Linked DNA regions of Homo sapiens: all the other regions are linked to region 3. Evidence: promoter capture Hi-C in 16 types of primary human blood cells and fetal thymus (Javierre and others, 2016). All regions are on one chromosome and are shown on one strand. Each heading gives the region's core, a stretch centred on a gene start or on the middle of the fragment in contact. The rest is flanking DNA. Distances are from core to core; before and after follow the strand shown.

The links. The method cuts DNA at HindIII sites, captures the fragments that hold promoters and counts their contacts. A CHiCAGO score of 5 or more calls a contact.
Region 1: a fragment that was not itself captured here is called in contact with the fragment with the promoter of ARHGEF26-AS1 in region 3 in 1 of 17 cell types (total CD8 T cells); the score reaches 5.4 in total CD8 T cells.
Region 2: a fragment that was not itself captured here is called in contact with the fragment with the promoter of ARHGEF26-AS1 in region 3 in 1 of 17 cell types (neutrophils); the score reaches 6.2 in neutrophils.
Region 4: a fragment that was not itself captured here is called in contact with the fragment with the promoter of ARHGEF26-AS1 in region 3 in 1 of 17 cell types (naive CD8 T cells); the score reaches 7.6 in naive CD8 T cells.

What each region holds. Positions count from the first base shown.
Region 1 is chr3:152,964,661-152,969,511 of GRCh38, reverse strand. No RefSeq gene overlaps it. Among named protein-coding and RNA genes, the nearest start is that of P2RY1, 130 kb to the right of the region's middle. The HindIII fragment of the contact is 1,328 bases long and covers 1,515-2,842 here.
Region 2 is chr3:155,330,035-155,335,098 of GRCh38, reverse strand. No RefSeq gene overlaps it. Among named protein-coding and RNA genes, the nearest start is that of STRIT1, 39 kb to the right of the region's middle. The HindIII fragment of the contact is 8,170 bases long and covers 1-5,064 here.
Region 3 is chr3:154,117,916-154,123,237 of GRCh38, reverse strand. ARHGEF26-AS1 (ARHGEF26 antisense RNA 1) reads left to right here and starts at 2,028. Exons shown (of 4, transcript NR_037901.1): 1 at 2,028-2,166. It overlaps ARHGEF26 (Rho guanine nucleotide exchange factor 26), which reads right to left and starts at 1,848. Exons shown (of 15, transcript NM_015595.4): 1 at 1,719-1,848; 2 at 163-1,296. The coding sequence starts at 1,245. The HindIII fragment of the contact is 6,897 bases long and covers 1-5,322 here.
Region 4 is chr3:152,946,036-152,951,157 of GRCh38, reverse strand. No RefSeq gene overlaps it. Among named protein-coding and RNA genes, the nearest start is that of P2RY1, 110 kb to the right of the region's middle. The HindIII fragment of the contact is 237 bases long and covers 3,318-3,554 here.

The DNA.
Region 1 (4,851 bases), core at 929-3,428, 1.2 Mb after region 3:
CTGAATGCTTTTGTAACGTTTTTATGCTGAATAAAATGGGAAGCCATTACAGGATTTTGAAAAGAGAACTGATATGCTTTGACTTAACAGTGTAAGTACTTCACTCTGGCTGCTATCTTAAGAATTTTCTGTTTGGGAATAAGGATAGGAGGAGAGAGACTGATTAGAAAGTCATTATAATAATCCAGGGGTGCAAGGCTGCTTGTTTGAAAATAGTGAGAAGTGGTCAGATTCTGGATATATTCTGAACAGAGAGGCAACAAGATTTGCTCAGGGGTTGAATGTGATCTCTTAAGTAAAGAAAGCAATCCAGGATGACTCTGAGGTTTTTGACCTGAGCAACTGGAAGTATGTTGTTGCTATTTACCAGTGTGAGAAAGACAGTTTGAGGGAAAGATCAAGAGCTCCATTTGGACATGTCAAGTTGTGACATCCATCCTAGAGTACATGGCCAGTTGAGGGTTATGAGCCTAAAGGTCCAGGGAGAGATCTCTGCTGAAGATTTGGGATACATTTGAAGATTGTTGGCCTACCAGAGAGTATTTAAAATAACACAACTGGGTTAACAGAGAGTGCATGATAGGGAAGATACAGGACCAAGAACTGAGCCCCAGGACACTCTGATGTTAAGAAGCTGGGGCAAGAACAGAAGCCAGGACTTCAGACTGAGAACAACAGTGACCAGTCAGGGAGAAAAAAAAACCAGAGACACTTGTGATGGACTCCAAGTGAAGGAAGTGCTTCAGGAGGAAGGAGTGATCAGCTTTGGAAATGTTTCTGATAGGGTAACATGGGCACTGACTATTGGATTTAGATCTGTGAATTTATTTTTTGGATTAGAGTCAAAGTTTCTTTCCCTCTGGCTTCTGCTCATTGTATTTTTCAGTCGATCGTCCTGCTTTCTGAAGCCGGGTCTGAGTCATCCTGGAAATAGATGCTTATAAGTTCTGGCCTAGTGTCAGGTCATGTGTCTGTTTTCCCTGCCTCTTCAAATTCTAAAGCAACCAATTTCCTGATAGGGTTAGGTCAAAACCTCTTGTATGTATAGTGGGTGGTAACAGAGAAGAGGCCAAGAAGAATTGAATCTCATTCTCCCAGTGCATTTCCAATGTGATTTAGTGTACAGACTGTCAAAGAATATTATGCTTCAAGAGTAACAAGATAGGTGGCCCTTTGGTTCTTTTTTCAGGGAATATGAAAAACTGAAAAAGATGAAGAAATAAGGTATCACAGATTTGGAATTTAAATTATAAATTTGCACATCACGTCTTATGGCATTGGTATTTCAATACTCTATCTAGTCTTCTAGTTCATAAATCAAGAATTACAACACATTCCCAGAACAATGAAAATAGGTAAACTATGGCTAAAAAGCACTTTAAAGATTTGTAGCAACTTAGCAGTTCTCTAAAAATAAAATTTCCTCGGGAGAATAAAATGTTATTTCTATCACAGTGCAAACACCAGATAACTGAAATGTAATAAATCATTTATAAGCTGACTTAAAGAAAGCTTTTATATATTTTGATTAGAAAACAAGTTAAAGAGATGCAGTTCACAAGTTTATTGTATTTTTCTTTGTATACCAATTTTTCTAATTAAGACTTTACTTTGCATAGGTTTTTCATAAGAAAAAATAAATACATATTTCAGGAAGTATCTTTGAATTTTACAAATCTATTCTATACTGAAGATCCAATATCAGAATAAAAATTCCTGTTTTATTTACCTATTGCTACATAATAAATCACTTAAAATCTTAACAGCCTCAAACTACAATTTTATTATCTGTGTGATTTTGTTGGTTAAGTGGGCTCAGCTGGGTGTTTGAATGTATGCAGCAAAGTGGTTTTTCTGTTCCATGTGCTGTTGGCTAAGACTGTGGTCATCAGGATACTGGCTATGCTACAGTACAAGTCGGCTCACTCACATAGCTGGCAGTTGGTGCTGGCTCTTGCTGGGAACTCAGCTGAGGCGTTAGGGTGTCTTGGTTCCTCTGCATGGCCTCTCTATATGTTTTAGGATTCCTGTAGCAAGGGAGCTAAATTCTAAAAGGTTCAAAGTGGAAACTGTCAGTGTTCTTAAGGCCTGGGCTTGGAAGCATAGGAATGTCATTTCTGCTGTATTCTGTTGGTCAAAACCAGGCACCAGTTTAGCACAGATTCAAGAAAAGGAAATAATTTAGGAAATGGCCTAAGCACCCAAGAAGAAAAAAAATATTGAAGGCTATCTTTGGAGATTAGCTACCAGAATTTGTCCCCTGGCTTCAACAGTTAATGTTTCTACAATATGCAAAATATCCTCACCATTCCCTAAAATCCCAAAAGCCTTATTCCATCATGACAGAGCTCAAAGTCTAGCCATTGTCATTAAATCAGGTACAGTATAGATGGGGCTCCTCAGGTGCAGTTCCTTGGGTACCAAGAACCATAAACTAACAGATAAATTATCTGTCATCCATGTTCCTAACTTAAAATGTTAATATAGGATGGTACAACTATAATTGTTTAAAAAGGGATAAAGTAGGAAGTCCATAGAAGTCACCATTTCATAGCAACTCTGAAATCCAGCTATGCATAAGTTGTCATTTATTCTGATTTCAGGGATTGGGGAATATTCTTTGATTAGGGCAGTTCTACTCCCTGGGAGTGAATTCTGTGGTTCTTGGATGTACTTAGTCTTTGGACTCTTTATTTTGCCCTCTGAATCATATCTCCTTTTCCATAGAAATAACTACCATTTAGAGTTGTGTAGCTTTTTCAGCCTGCTTTCTACCCATAGGAGCTTGGGGGCCCAGATGCTTTTTAATTTTAAATTGTCTTTGTACTATTTGGTCCAAGCTTTTACAATTCTTTAAAAAATGATGTGGGTTTTCCATGTATCAAATTACAATCTCTATTAGAAAAAAACACCTACAAATTTCAAGCAGGCCTATCTCTACCTTGGGCTATGGGACATCTTAAAAATTCTTAGAAGCTCTTTTTTGTGTATGTGATAAACAGAGTATAAGAATAATGCCTTTATGGGGCTGGGCGTGGTGTCTCATGCCTGTAACCCTAGCACTTTGGGAGGCCAAAGCAGGCAGACCACTTGAGGCCAGGAGTTTGAGACTAGCCTGGCCAATATGATGAAACTCTGTCTCTACCAAAAATACAAAAATTAGTCAGGTGTGCTGGTGCATGCCTATAGTCCCGACTACTGGGGAGGCTGAGGCACGAGAATCACTTGACACTGGGAGGTGGAGGTTGAAGTGAGCTGAGATAGCACCATTGCACTCCAGCCTGGGTGAGAGAGTGAGATCCTGTCTCAAAAAAATTTAAAAAATAATAATAAAATAAATAAAAGATTCTTGGAGGCCCACTTTTTTAACTGAGAGAGTCTATGAGACTTGATCTTAAGATTCTTAGAAGTTCTTTTGTCTGGCTGGGAGCATCTAAAAGGTACTCCATTACATTTTTCTGAGATCTCAACACAGAATCTTACAACCACACCCCTGCACTAATCTTGGCTGTGAGGTGGTGTTTTCCTGGCAGTGCCCTGGCATTGCCTCTAGGTTTCAATTTACTTTGAGTATATTTTGTGACCTGGGAGTTTGAGAATGACAAAAAAATTTATTTTCCAAACCAGTGATTCTGGGATTGGAAATGTTTCCTCTATATGCTACTTGAAAACAGAACAACTTTTTCTTCAGTTCATCTATTTTTTTTCTTATCACACACAATTAAAAAACAACACTTGGCACTTTCAAAAAATGCCATCTGAAAATGTTCTTAGTTATATCTACAAGCCATCTTCCATACTATTGCAAGCAAAAATGTTGCCAAATGTTTTACGACTACATAACATGGGTAATCTTTTCTTCAGTCTTCAATAACAATGTCCTTACAGTCTGTCCAGCCTCCATTTATAATTTTTGAGGGCTTTCTGCCCTATGCTAGCTACTAGTCCTAAAGCCAATTACATATATTTTAGGTTTTTTTTTTAATAGAAACACTTTACCTCCAGGTATCAATTTTAATTTCAGTTCTAAAACCACCTTTGCAAAATTATGACAGTAAGAGAAATCTGACATAGTTGACTCCATCTTGCTTCTGACCTCCACACTATCCTTGATCCTTCCTGGGTGTAGACCACACTAACTTTGGGAAGAATTCAGTTTATAGTTTAACTTTGAAGCAAGGATCATAATAGTTTCTCCCTACAACTAATCCCTTCCCTGTTCGTGGGCTGTTTTTAAGACTAATGAAAGGTCACAAGATTAGTACTATAGGAGAGGCCAGAGTTCTGCTAAAATGAAGGCACAGTTTCTATAATCCCTGACTTCTCAGGAAGTCACAAGATTTGTAACTTCCCCAATTGCTACTATATATAACATCATTATTGTAGAATCTAAGTGTTTTTTAAAAGATGTTTTTCAGACTGACCCCACCTGGACTTATGACTCATGACTCAACTGGTCCTGTAGCCCCACCCAGAGATAAGCTCAGTGCACAGGGACCATTTTCCACACCCCTATAATTTTATCTTCAACCAGTCAGCAGCACCCTTCCCCTAGCCCCCTGCCTACCAAATTGTCCATAAAACCCCTAGCCTTTGAGCCTCTGGGGAGACTGAAGACAAGACTGAAGACTGGGAGAAGAACTCCAGTTCTTCTGTGTGGCCAGGCTGGAGTCAATAAAACTCTTTCTCTACTCCAATTGCATGATCTCAGTGAACTGGTTTTATCTGTGCTATGGGCAGGAGGGACTCTCCAGGTGATTATAGTTCTAACGGTACCACTAACAAAAATGCAGAACATTTAACAAATACACTTATCCTTAAATATAGTAGCACCAAGAAACCAAGATTCAC
Region 2 (5,064 bases), core at 1,509-4,008, 1.2 Mb before region 3:
GGCAGGATTAAGAAAGCAGAATGATTTGGCCTTGTGGTGTGCACCGCTTCCTGGACAGGAAACAGAAAGGTTTTGTTCAGTTTCTGTCAGGTTCAGATAAGATGAGTTAGCCAGGAGAAGCAGCACATGTCAGACTTGGCACAAAGTGCTGCAGCGGAGTAAGGGCCATGTCACAAAGCAGCGTGTTACATGCCAGTATGATTCTGTTTGAAAAGTGATTATTCCAAAAAGGTGGCAGCAAAATAAAGTTATAACCAGAAACCTAATGAAGTTGGTTAGATGGTATAAAAGTAGGTGTTGGGCTGGTTTCCTAAAAATGGTGTAATTGAAATGACTATGCATTTATTTTCTTCTATCTAAAATGTAATTCCTTTTCTGAATACGTTTTACAAAACGAATAAAGTCTCTTTGTTTACCACTTTTCAGGTTCCTTTTTGAGTTTCTTGTTTTAAGTGGCAGCTAGATCTTCTTCATCTTAATGTAATTAACATGGGAAGAGGCTTTGCATTTGTTCCTGTGAATTGCTAGGGATGTGTGTGCATCCTAGGCTGCCTGTGGGCTTCTGGCAAAACTCATTTTGTTTTTGATGGGCAGTGAACCAACATAAAAGCCTTATACCCTCAGCAGATAAAGATGATAATATTAGAAACTGAAGAGATTTGGGATTCTGAAAAACATCAATTGCTATTAGCTTGAGGGTAGCTCAGCTGCCTGGCTTCCAGGTTGCCAGTTAATATAAAAAAGATAGCATCTGCTGGATAATGAACACCTGTGACAATGATTGTGGTTCTCAGTCACTTGAAAAATAAATCATTTCAATGTGGGTCAGGTGTGGCCAGTGTCGAACTTCCATGGGCCAGATTATTTTCTGGTTCTGATGACATCCAGAATATCTGAAACTGTTCTTTCGAGGACTTATATGAGTGAGGCTACAACAGAGCTACTATCCACTTTCATCTTGTACCACCTACTGAACCAACCTACTGTCAGCTGCACCTAAGTGATTACCCACATGGCTGTAGGTTTGAGCTGAAATGGCATGGTGCTTGACAAGGGTGTCTGAGCTACCTGTTCAAGCACCTGCTTAGGGCCTCTGATCTTGTTCATTTCCTTTCCTTTATTTTTTTGAGCCAGAGTCTTGCTCTGTCACCCAGGCTGGAGTGCTGTGGTGCCATTTCAGCTCACTGCAGCCTCCGCCTCCCAGGTTCAAGTGATTCTCCTGCCTCAGCCTCCCAAGTAGCTGGGACTACAGGCATGTGCCATCATGCCCAGCTAATTTTTGTATTTTTAGTAGAGATGGGGTTTCACCATATTGGCCAAATTGGTCTTGAACTCCTGACCTCAAGTGATCCTCCCACCTCGGCCTCCCAAAGTGTTGAGATTATAGGCATGAGCCACTGCGCCCAGCCTTGTTCACTTTTAATGGCCCTCTGATCTTGTTTATTTTTATCTTTTGATGAATTGCTGCTGGGCGCACTGGACATTATGATTTGGTAGGTCTGATAGGATCAAGTTCATGCTGATACGTTTTGGATGCATGGGTGCTTGGTGTCCCATGGCCAAGAAATACTTCTCTTCTGGAGTTCAAGAACAAAGCAGGAGTTGTTTTTCAAAAGGTGTCTAATAATTCACTGCATATGGCCCGGCCCAGCTCCAGACCCTCAGTGCTTTACTGTCATTCTTCACTGGAGCTTACCACACATTACACATAGCATCTTTCTCGCTACTAGAATCTTGAACACTATAAGGATTTCTGGCTGAAGGCCCAAGTGTCAGGGCTACTTGCACCGCCACAGCCTGGAGCTCTTGCAGAGCTTTCTTCTTCCCCTGGCCTCACTCAAGTTCAGCAGCCTTTTGTGTCACCTGGTAGATAGGCTAGAGGAGTATTTTCAGGTGTGGAATATTCCACATTCAGAACTTTAGGGCATTGAGCTCCTTACTTCAGGATAGAAGGTGTGAGATGCAATAACTTGTCTTTTATTTGAAGATCTACTGGCATGCCCCTCACCACTGGACCCCCAAATGTTTTCTGATGTAGCCCTTTGAATCTTCATAAGTCTTATCTTCAACTCTCTTTAGTGCATGAGTCTTACTAAGACCTCCAGCCTGCTAGACTTCTTACTCATCCGGATAAATTAGCATAATGACATGTATGCAATGCGTCACTGTGATTCTCTGTTGGATGTCCAGGTGGTCCAGATGTCTTTGTAATATATTCCAGCCAGAAACACGGGAGTTAACGCAGCTCTGGGGCAAATTGTAAAAGTATAGTGCTGCCTGTTTCATGTGACTGCAAACTATTTTTGACACACTTTTCTGACTAGAATAGAAAAAAAAAACATATTTTACAAGTCAGTGGCTGCATACCTTTGTACCTGAGGCTGTATTAATCTGCTCTAGAAAAACACCATGCCTGGCACAGCAGATGCAACTGGGGCTACTACATGATTGTGTTTTCAATAGTCTATTCTAGAATCCATCTGGTTTCTTCAGGGACCACACTGGAAAATTAAATGAAGATAACACAAAGACTACCACCCCTGAATCCTTTAGATCCTTAAGGGTAGCATTGACTTTTGCCATCCCTCTGCCCTTAGTATATGATGTAACGTTTTTTAATTTGAGGGGAGCAGTTTCAGAGGCTTCAATCTGACCTTCCCCACCATGACACCCCTTACTCCACATGCCAAGGACGCAATGTTGACATTATAACCACTGACTATGAAATTGACTAAATACTCCTATCTCAGTTATAAATTCAGGGGCCGGGTAAATGCTCAGTTGGTGGGTTCCCAGACAAAATGGACTCTATGTATTTCTCATATCTCCTTCCCCTAAGGGAAGGCACCTCAGATCTTTGAGCATCAATCTCAACTAAGATTCTGTATCTAACAGTCCCTTTTGTTTAATCTGGGGAGAGGACACAGCCTGTGAACAGTTGTCTACCAGGAAATGCCTCACATAAAACAACAAAACAAAAATAAATAAATTATCACAAATTAAGAATATAGAGCAAATATCAACAGAATGGTACTGGCCAGGTGCGGTGGCTCATGCCTGTAATCCCAACACTTTGGGAGGCTGAGGCAGGCAGATCGCAAGGTTAGGAGTTCGAGACTAGCCTGGCCAATATGGTCAAACCCTGTCTCTACTAAAAATACAAAAATTAGCTGGGCGTGGTGGCAGGCCTGTAGTCCCAGCTACTTGGGAGGCTGAGGCAGGAGAATCACTTGAACCCAGGAGGGGGAGGTTGCAGTGAGCTGAGATGACGCCACTGCACTCCAGCCTGGGTGACAGAGTGAGACTCCGTCTCAAAAAAAAAAAAAAAGAAAAGAAAAAAAAGAGAATGGTACTGATGGTACTGATAGAGATGGGTACAAGAACTGGAAGGAGAACATCAGAGCTGAAGACTATTACCCTAAAATCTACATAAATACAGCATATTCCTGAAGTGGATTCTTTGAGGATTTACATGTAAAAAGAAATCTACTAATAATTAATAGTAGTACATTATTATTTTTATTTCTGAAACAAACAGTCCCAAGCTCCCTATCAAAAGAATCCCAGGTATTTCCATCAAAACAAACAAATAACTTATTGGAACTTAGCAATCTTGAATTGACAAGCACAGATCCAGGGGAATATGGCTATGAGCAGATGACAAGAAGGTATCATCTGTAGGGTTACTTTCATCCTTAAGCGTGTTACCCTTGACTGTTTTAATAAATATTTCCATGTAAGTTACAGAGCTTTGTGCTGTCTGGTTGGGACTTAAATTGGCTCTCTGAAAATGGAATATATGCCAATTCTCAGTGTTCTCATGGCTTACAAGTGAAACAGATGAACAATATTATGTGTCATGTTGATTTCTGTTTGATAATGATAAATGTTGGTGTTTCCTCAAAAATTAATTTGCTCCATATGTTGGTTTCTGAAAGACTGAAATAGTGGATCACTTTTGGAAATGGCATCGATAGCATTTTCTAATCTTCATATTGATTACCACCTTTGGTTGATATATATTACTAATGTTTGTATACACATGTGTATACATTATACATTTCAAGATCTATGTGCAGAATAAAAAGCCCATGTTTATTTTCAAATATACTGCTTTCATGACTCTCATGACTCTCCGCTCTGGCTTCAGCTGAGCAGATAAGCGGCCCAGTACGAGTTGGTTCTGTTGCCCTGGAAGGTGTTTCACAGTAGCAAGGGCCCTTGGTATTGGAAGAGACATCAAAGATCATCAGAAGATCCCAAACCTGACAGCACATTTATGAAATTCACTGGGGAGATTAAAACTAGATATATCTCAGCCCCTATTTTGGTCTAGTAATTCAAAATATCTGGATGAGGGTTTTGAAAAAACTCAGCCAGATCTGAGAATTGCATAATCCAGTCACCTTCATGATTTTGTTAAGTCTTCAGATTTAGAGTCAAAAGTAAGCAAGTCTTGTTAAAAACCCATTATCTTGAAAATCTGGTTGTTGAACTGTTTTTGAATGTATCTGCATGGATAAACCAGACTCTTCAGTTTTTATCTGATGGGACATCATGTCCTGTTGTCCTCAATATCCTCCCACAGCAGCCTCCTCTGAGCCTGCTCAGACAAGAGCAGAACACATTTTTGTCAAATGAATTAATAAACTTGAATTTCAGATCTTTTATTGTCAAAGAGGGAAAAATGTCATTCAGAAGGGAAGGACCAGGGCCTTATTTTTTTTCTTGTACCTGAACAATGATACTGTAAAAAAGTTAGATCAGAACAAAACTATTTATATTAGATCAGAACAAAAACCATTTTATGATTTAAGAGCTTATACTGGGTTTCTCAACCTTGTGTAGGAATTAGGAAGTCCTTCATTGCTATCTGCTGGAATCAGTACTGCATTAACTCCAAATAGGCATAATTTACTGAAGCCCCTCACCTTCAAACAGCTTATATGACTAATTCCGCTGGCACTCGTATTTGCCCTAGACCCAAGACTAAATACCAGATGCCACCAGGCTGCAGTGTGGTGTGTGGGGTGGCAGGAATAAGGAGGCATGGATTTCAGCTGG
Region 3 (5,322 bases), core at 779-3,278:
ATCAAAGTGGCCAAGAGCTGGATGTACACTAGCAATCAAGAGCAAAACACAGAATTAAAACGGAATGACTTCTTCGGGTTTCCTCTACGCTCCTCCTCCCCACTCCCAACACATTTACTTTCCGCTTAGTGAATGGCGTGCCACACTCCTGCCCACTTTTACCTTTATCCTTCCCAGACTGGAAAACTTCTCCTTGTCTTCCATCACCACTTTCAGAACAGGCTGGGACATTCTGTTCTTCTTCTTCGAGCTGGTAGGACTGTCAAAATCAAAGCCACTGACCACTGCCCTGCGATAAGACGTGGACCGCAAGCCTCTCCGCAGAGACCCTGGGCTATCCACGTCGTTATCGACCTCACTCTCCTCCCCTGCGTGACCCAGGGGTCCTCCTAGGCCCTCCACCATGCTGCGCACCTTGAGGAGTCTCTTGTGGGGCTCCACATTTTGATTGTTGGATTTACTTATTTTAATTTCCGAGGCCAGACTCTTCGGAATGATCTGCTGCTTCCCCACTTTGAGGGCGGCGGGGCTGTTTGTACTCAAAACCACGGAAGGATTCTCGAGGAGCTCGTTCTCCTGGGAGGGCAGCCTTTGGAGGGGGAGTTTTTGTTCCGAAGAACTTTTCTGGGGCCCAGGAAAGAGCCCCCGTTCGGGGTCCTTTGCCTTCCGGCCGGACTGCGAACCTGACCCAGGAGAGTCGTTATTAGCGGCAAGGCCATTTGCAGTGGGCGAAGGCACCGGGCTGGCAGTCAACCCAGTAAGGTCCTCCTCGGGGGTGCAGGGGGCGGGCGCGTTAGGAGTCCGCGGGGGGCGCAGAACCGGCGGCGGCGGCGGCGCAGGCAAGGTCACCGCGCCATTTGCTGGGGATTTCGGGGAGCCGCCAGGCACCGCTTTGGGGAGCTTGGGTGACTTGGGCCGTCGAAGTCGAGGAGAGGCAGCCCTGTACTCCGGGGATGCCGTCCCACCATTGGCCACCGCTCTCCGCTGGGCGCCCAGAAGCAGGGGGCTCCTATGTACCGTCCTGCTGTCCGAGGCGGTGGGCACCTGGGCGGGAATCTGCGCTGCGAGGAGCGTCCCTCCGTCCTCCACCGGGAAATCCGTAATTAGTAACCCGTTGGGGCTCTGGTAGGACTGGGGCCTCGGCTTGCTCCGGCCCAGAACCTGGTGGGGCTGAGGAATCGACCGCCTCCGCCACAAAGGGGTTATGCTGTTGCTAGAAAAATCCACCTCGCTCTCGCCGTCCATAGCCGGGCCTCGAAGTCAGCGCCGGGAGGAGCAACACCGAGTTAGTCTTGCCTAAAGAGGAAAGAAGTTAGGAAACTGTGCCTCTGGACAACCGGGGACGCCTGGCCGACTCGCGTGCTCCCAGACCGGCGGTCCCCCTGCTGCTGCGCAGGACACGACTGCACCGCACTTACCCGCCCTTTCTCGGGCAAAAACTGCACCACTGCGGTGCGCGGTTCCCGGCAGAAATCTGGGCTGCCGCCCAGGCGGATTAATCCAATCACCTCCGCGTCCCTCCCGCGCCAAAAGACCACCCGCAGCAAATGAGCCCGCCACCCATTCACTGAGTGCAAGCCGAGGCACAAGAAACTTGGGACGAGTTCAGCTTTCTTGGGAAACTCGCCGCGGGACGCTCCCTTCTGTCGCCATCCAGCCTCCCGCCCTCATCATGGGTACCCTCGCGCTCCAGGTGCGCGGCTCCCACGCAAATTTACCTTCTGGGGCTTGCAATGTCCGGGGCCGAGGAGCACCCACTACCCCGTGGGTGGCCCGGGTCCGGGACCGAAGCGCAGCCGCGAGAGCTTAGGAGAGCGCTGCCGCCGACCGCGGCGCCGGCGCCGGCCCGCCCCCACGCCTGACTACGCCCCCACACTTGGCCCCGCCCCCGTTTCGGCCCCGCCCAGATCCGCCTCCATCGCAGCCAGAAGCAAGAAGCTGTCTTCCCGCCCCCGCGTGCCTACAATCAGCCCCAGTCTCCCTGGGAAACCGACGAGCGCACCTGAGCTGGGTTCTGAGCTCCAGCGTTTTGGGGCTAGAAGTTGCGGACTAGTAGCTGAGGCGGCACGGGAGTGTAGGCGCGCGGGGTCGTTGCCGGGGGCACAGAGTGAGAACAAGCAAGGGAGCCCTGCTGAATTGCAGCTTAGGAAGCCCTGAATCCTGGAGGTGCGTTGAAACCGAGAACGCGCGGCGTAGTAGACTTTGTGAGATGCGTGGGCAGTAGCGCAGAGTTCTAACGCAGAGTCATGCCCTCTCAGCATTCAGGTGGTCTTAAATCAGATGGGCTCGTCCCAGTGCTGAAAATGCATTATAATATAAACAGATAGATGGGCTTGTTTGTGCCTAGAGTCTTTCCGTAGGAAAGACTGGCAGCTCTGAAGAGGGAAACTGGGTGGCTAGGAAACCGGAGGGAGGGAGAGTTTTCATATAATTATTTTTGGTCCTTGTATGCTTTGCATCTTGAAACCTATCTGTGAAAAATAAGCTCAATTTACACTACAAAAAAAGTATTGGTTTCCAACAGTACATAGAATAAAACTCAAAATCCTTAGCATGGCTTACAAGACACTTCACTACTGCCCTACTTCTTCAGCCTAGTCTTTCCTCCATCACTTTCTTCATTATTTTTTTGGCCACACTCAAAGTTTGACAGCCTCATAACCTTCCCTTTCGTTCCTTCTTGACCCGACTTGTCACTGCGTCAGAAAGGCCTTCCCTGTCCCCTCCTTAATTATACCATTGCCCCGTTTATTTTCCCAGCCACTTGTTCTCTTCTATTTTTGCACTTATAAAATTTTGTATATATATATATTTATGTGTTTATGTTTATTGTCTTTTGTCTTTACACAGTAATTTGCATGAGGGCAGGGGTCATGTTTTTTTTTCTTCTCCGTATTTCCGGCACATGGTGGGCACTTAATATTTATTTAATGAGTGAGAGAATGAATGACAGGAATGAAGTGAAAACAGTGACCATTCCTTCCAAAGTGCTTGGTTGTCAAATAGTAGAAAGATGGCTGTGTCTTGGCCAGGCTCCTGCTGTGTGACAATAATGAGGCAAACTTGAGAAGACAAATAATTTTAGACCATAAGAGCTGTATAATTGATTCTATTAGCAAGACAAATGGGCCCTTCTCCAAGTTCTCTTTCTGCATTCATGCATTCAGCAGGGATGCAGTGAGCATCCACTGTGTGCAAGTTATGCTGCCTGTTTTTGCCCTAGATTGAATGCAATGGCCAAAAATATTAAGATGTGATCTCTGGGTGGTGAGATGAAGGATAGTATGTTTCATGCTGCTTTATATTTTTCTATACTTAACGAAATATCCTGGACAATGAAGATATATTACTTTGATCTGAGACATTTTCATAAACAAAGAAAAAAAGAAACGGCATCGAAAAATGTATAAGAAACTTTTTTTTTTTTAGACGGAGTTTTGCTCTTGTTGCCCAGGCTGGAGTCCAATGATGCGATCTCGGCTCACCGCAACCTCCGCCTTCAGGGTTCAAGCAATTCTCCTGCCTCAGCCTCCCGAGTAGCTGGGATTACAGGCATGTACCACCACGCGCGGCTAATTTTGTATTTTTAGTAGAGACAGGGTTTCTCCATGTTGGTCAGGGTGGTCTCGAACTCCCAATTTCAGGTGATCCACCCACCTTGGCCTCCCAAAGTGCTGGGAATTGCAGGTGTGAGCCACCGCTCCTGGCCTAAGAAAATTTTTAAGAAAGAAATTTTCCACATTGGGTGGAAGACATGGCTGATTACATACTCACATGTAGGTACATAGACTTTTTTTTTAATATAAGGTGTTTTCTATACCAACATGTATTGCTGTTATATTGGGGAAATATAATAAATTAATTTCAGAAGTGGTTACCGACTGACAAATGGAGTATTCACCTAATTCAAAATGCAACCTGTGACCTATGTTAAGAAGCTGTAAAAGGTGATGTGAGAAGGTGGCTTTTCTTGAAATTATGTTGCTTCTACAAACAAGTATAACCAATATTTGTGACGACTTCATAGGATCTTCTTACCTCATTTCCAACAGACAACAAAATACCTACCAAAACAACAACAAAACACCAAGCTCTGGTCCTTCACTGAGGGAAGTTTACAAACTCACAGACCTAGTGCCTATTCAATTTATTGTTATCTATTCAAATCTAACCTATCTTCAATTATATGTTCCACTCAAAAGAAAGGAAAAGAGCTGCTAATAAAACTATGACAATATGTTATGTCATATCGAATTTTTACTTTATACTTAGTGCTTTTAGACACTTATACATAGATTTGCTTAGTACTGTGTGTATGTAGGAAAGGAAAATATAAGCAAAATGAATTTACCAAAGTCCCGAACATTGAGCCTGATTCTTCTGAATACCTTTTCATGAAAAGCATTCATGTGTGTTTTTCCACACAATATTGTTGATAGTGCACCATTTCTTAAAAGGATGTTCCAATCTTGTTTCTGGGATTTGCCTCCTAGACAATGACACTCATTCTGCAGTTGTGATGCTGGCACTATCCCATTTGACTAAACACATAGTTTTCTTGTTCAACTGAATTGTATGTCACTACAAGCTATGCAGCTTCTCTATTAATGGCCAGGAGAAAGTTTCTCACAAATGGTAGTTTCATGCCTTAACCATAGTCCTGCATGATACATGAATTGGTTATATCAACCTCTCTTTGCTTTAGAATTTCTTTCACCTAATCTGTCATATCTGGTAATTTCTCCTGCCTTCAACTATGTTTCTTGGCATATGGCTTTGACACAACAGGACTAAATTTCATAGAATTTAGTAGAAATGATAACAATTCATTTATGCCCATGTTCAAAAATAGGCAATGCCAACTATATCATCACTATCACCTGGCCACTGGATGTTTATTTGATAGTAAGACACATCCCAGTTTCAAAGAAATTAAAATGTGGTACCAAATTATTCTTAAAATTGAAGAAATACAGTATGTCAAACTATTTGTAATGATATTTTCCGCTGGTATATTCCAATGGTATATTGAACTATTAGAATATTCAATGGTACAACGCAAGATATATATGGCTACATTTACTAAACAAATTCACATTGGTCACAAATTTTGTGTCCCAAGCACAATAATTTGGCTAATTTTTAAATGCAAATTGTTAGCTAGTCTTATTACAATATATGTCCAATTTTCCAGTATTTCCCATCCCGTGTACCTTTTGTTTATTTATACATTCAACAACTATTTATTGGGTGCATTCAAGTGCCAAGCATTAAGACAAACATTCCTGAACCTTACAGTTTGGCTCATGAAACATGACTGAA
Region 4 (5,122 bases), core at 2,187-4,686, 1.2 Mb after region 3:
CCTGGCCTGAAAAGCTTTTAAGCAGGTTTGAAACAATTAGGTATGGGAATATACCTTTTTAACTACATTTTTCAACAAAATACAGATCAAATATTTTAAACAAATTTAGCTGTTCAAATTGAAATAAACTGGAAGTTAAAATACACACTGGAATTCAAAGTCTTAGTATGAAAAATGCAAAATATCCTATTAATATTTTTAAATATTGATTTACATTTTGAAATATTATTTTGAGTATGTTGAATTAAATAAAATATATTATTAAAATTAATTTCACCTGTGTCTTTTTACCTTTATAAACATGGTTATTAGATAATTAAAAATGACTTATTTTACTTTATATTTCTATAAGACAGCACTTATCTATGACAATTCAAAATCCAAGAGTGGCTTCCAAAAGCAGTGAGTTTAACATTGCCGAATACATTCAAACTATTCACTGAGAAGCTGAGCCCAGCTGAATTCTCAGCTTCTTCTCAAGTCTACTTCATTCATTCATTCTCTTAGCATGCATTTATTGATTATCTACTATGTGCCATGCACTTTGCTAAGCATTGGTCCCTTACATCAAGATAGAGGTACAAGTTAATTTAATAAAAGGCAATAAATATTATAATAGCGATATATATACACTATGGTGTTAAGAATGTCAGAGAAGAAGCATCAAGATCTTTCTGAGGAGCTGTCATTTGATTCACACTTGCAGGATAAGTAGGAATTTTACAGGTTTAGAGAGGGAAGGAGGAAATTCTTGAAAGAAAGAAAAGCAAAAATGTAGGAGAGGATTTGGAAAGTTTGTGGAATTGCAAGGTCAGTGTTGTTACTTAGACGACAGAAGGGCAGAAGATGAAGTTGGATGGAGAGAAAGGAACTGTGTCATGAAGGGTCTTATTCACCTTTTAAAGGACCTTAGATTTTACTTTGTAGGGAATGAAGAGTCACTGACAATTCTAAACCCGTTTATTTGATTCTAAGAATTATGTTTCAGAAATATCATTTTATTGGTTTTGAGGACAATAAACAGGAAACATTTCAGAGTAGAGGTAGAGAGTTCGGTAAGCTTTTGCAATGGTCCTGGCAAGAAATGACAAGGGCCCAAACAAGAGCACCAAGAAAGGGCAGATAACTATTAGGAAAACCAGGGCGGGCTGCATGAGCCAGGTCCAGCTTGGGAAGTCAGATAAATGAAGATGCCATTTACCAGGGCACACAAGGTAGGAAGAGATTTGGAAGAATGCTATTTCAGTTTTGGGCATCTGAGACTGAAATATCTTTGGGACATCCAAGTAGAGAAATCTGCTAGGTCATTCTCTGTATATTTTCAAATAAGCCAAATAAAAATGCAGGGGAAACATGAACAATTTTTAAAGTTTAACCACTGGAAGAAAGAAAAAGCAATCTATGATTTCATCTTGAAATAAATGGGTTTAAAAGTATATTGCATACTTTGTCTTACTTTTCAGTCAAGTAAATTTAGGTAAATATTTCATCTAATTAATGTTTTGTACAGGCAAATGCAGATACATTTAGTCATATAATAGGAAAGCATTGGCAGAACTGTAAATGTGCAGTATTAAGGCAATGGCTATATAAACAGCAACATGTACCTACTCTGGAACATTATGTGTCAGCAATGAACAGTATATTTTGGAGAATAGTTAATCAGTGAAATAGTCATGATATGATGACAAATGAAAAAGAGCAAAATGCAAAACTGTATAAATAGTACAATCCCAATTTTGCCAAAAAGATATGTATCTAGTTATACAGAAAAATGGCAAACTATCCTCTCTAGAAAGTGGGATTACAGATAATTTTGATATTCCCCTTGTTTTGCTTTTATTAAATGTTTTACACTGAAAAATTGTCAAGGACACCAGAGAATATGTGGTTTATGTAAAAAGAAATGTTCAACTTCGATAAATTTTAGAATTATTATTCAGTTGTAGATAAAAATAAAAATTCATCAACCTTATTTTGAATATAACTATGACATACTCTCACTTCCGGTCATTATCCTCTTGGAATAGAAAACTTCATTTCTTTTCTTTTTGGAGGGGACAGAGCCTCACTTTCACCAATGCTGGAGTGCAGTGGTGCAATCATAGCTCACTGCAGCCTCAAATTCTTGGACTCAAGTCATCCTCTGGCCTCAGCCTCCCGAAAGCTTGGACTACTAGTGTATGCCACCACACCCAGCTAATTTGTAAGTTTCTTGTAGAGATGGGGTCTCCCTATGTTTCCCAGGCTTGTCTCGAACTCCTGGGCTCAAGTGATCCTCCCACCTTAGCCTCCCAAAGTGCTGGGATTATAGGTGAGCCACCATACTCAGCCAAAAGTTCATATCCTTATACCAATTAATATACATGCTATTTGTAATTAGGCTCATTACCAAAAATTAAGGTGACTTTTAAATCTATCATTAAACCTAGGACAATTTGGAAGACAAAAAGGCCACTAATCATAATTACTCTGGGACAACAGGTACAAATCTGGACATATGGTCATCCTCTCTAGAATAGGCACATACATTTACCTGGATTAAGATTTAAGGCTTTATATTGTGAATAAAAAGTTAACCTTTAGCACTACTTTATTTCCTTTTTCATAAGAGTAAACATTTTGGGGATAGCATGAATGAATGAGCTGAACTCCACAATGGCATGCACAGGCAGCTCTTTTTGCCAATAATTTGCTCGATCACTAGATTGCAGAGTTCAGGGTTAAAAATACTTCAAACATCCTTGATGGGCTGATACAGTGAGAGGAAAAATAAAACAGGAAAATAATCTGTTTCAAAAATGATTTATGCCATGTAGGCTTTTCTGGAGTTTTTAAAGTTCCATTTGAAAAGTAAAGACAGTTGTACATTATGTTCTGACTTTCTGACTTTTTGTCTTCTGGTTGATCTTCTAAATGCTAGAATGGAAAGCTTGGGAAATGTTTTCAAAATTTTTATTGATAATTATTTACAAATCTGATGCCTTGGAATTATCTGATATCTGTAATAGATGATACAAAGTTTCATGAAGATTTATGTGACTAAACAGAAATTCATAAAGTCATTTAGACAATTAAGATTTGCACAAACTTCTATAATTATTTAAAAAAGAAAATGGAAAGGGGAAACCATTTTTATAAACAGATGAGTATAGTAAATGCTGGAGAATGCATAAAAAAGATCATATCTCTTTTTATTAATTAACACTGTTGTAAAGAAGCGACAATGGAAAGGAAAATCCATGAACCCATAAAATCATACACTTAAATTTATGCACAGCACTTTTGATCCTTGAATAGAATTAAAATCAAAAGCTTCTTAGCAGCATTCATAGTTAAATGCAGCTATAACATACAAGTATATTTTATAATTTGCTTTTACCAAAGTATCTTGAACATTACAGCAAATGTGCTTATTAAAAATTTCTTTGAATTTTAGAATAAAGTTTTGCTGATGATGGGATTAATGGATGGCAGGAAACTATCGTTTATTCATTTTCTACGCTGTACCATGAAGGGGTCCGGGTACTCAAAAACCTTGTTTTTGTTAAGCTTCAAAACAAAAACAAAAGCAAAAACAAAAACCCTGAGAGATGGCTTTACATACGAGAAACCTGAGAGATAAAGTATTTAAGAATTATTACTAAGGACTAAAATTAAATATTTCACACCTAGGTACTCATGTCCTTAAATAAATCAATAGATTATCAATCATATTAAAGTATGCATATATAGATTTTTAGAATACAAATAGCTCCTCTTTTAAATGTCTTTTGAGTCCATGTATTTCTAATCTCTATAAAGTTCAAAAGGTGGTTAAAATTAAGTTAAAATAATTTTCTTATTTGAACAGTAGAAATAAGTTTTAGGATGGCTTTGGAAATAACAATATTCTATTCAACTTGATAATTACTTTCAAAACAGGATATCCATTAAAAAACCCCTGTGAAGAATTAAACAGATTTAAACACCATCTCAAGGCATGAAAGACAATTTTGCAGTGGTTTTATCATTCACACTATAGTTTAATTTTTAAAGGTACACTGGGATGCTAGCAGAGGGAAGCCTCACATGGCAGGGGCATCATGGTGGGACGAGAAAGAAGGGGCAGCTTGGTAGAGAGCAGATAGTAGTGAAATAGAGAGAGGGCACCGGGATTCCAGTCCACCATTTATCTTAACCAGTTTTCTTACTTAGAATAAACAGTTCAATCTCAGTGGCCTCATTCCTTCCTGTAGATTATTTCTCCTTTCTTATTCCCCTCAAAGTCTAAACTGTAAGGAGGGCAGTTAAAAATTAAAATAACCAGGCCCACTGTAAAGTCCCTTAAGGAGATAATGACAGCAGTGATGATATTATAATGCTTTCTAAGGTTCACTCCAGCTTTGAAAGTATATTATTGGATAGTTTGTTCTGGGATTTGTTATGAGAAGATAACTAGTATCTTATTAGCTGATCTTTGAATCTACTCACTAGAGGACAGTATATTGGATGTGCGCAAACACACTAAAGATGTGTGGCTCACTGAAATAAAAACCTATTTTGGGCCAGGCACAGTGGCTCATGCCTGTTATCCCAGCACTTTGGGAGGCCAAGGTGGGCGGATCACCTGAGATCAGGAGTTCTAGACCAGCCTGGCCAACATGGTGAAACCCCATCTAAAAATACAAAATAAATAAATAAACAAACAAACAAATGAATAAATAATTTAGCCAGGCGTGGTGGCACGTGCCTGTAATCCCAGCTACTCAGGAGGCTGAGGCAGGAGAATTGAACCTGGGAGGTGGAGGTTGCAGTGAGCCGAGATCACACCACTGCACTCCAGCCTGGGTGACAGAGCAGGACTCCATCCAAAAAAAAAAAAAAAAAGAAAGAAAAGAAAACTATTTTGAAGAAAGATGCTAGCCAAAGAAACACATGAACAAGATAAATTCAGGCTCAATATTCTGAATAAAATTACAAGCTTTAGAGGGCTATTGAAATGTTTTTATTGGTAAACATTTAAACACAGTAGTGCATAAATGGTAAATGCTCTGGGACTGGCAACTCTAAGAAGTTAGCTGTTTTGAGATTAAAAGGTCTCAAATTCATCAAATGTGTGGCTCTGTATTGGCAGCTAGGT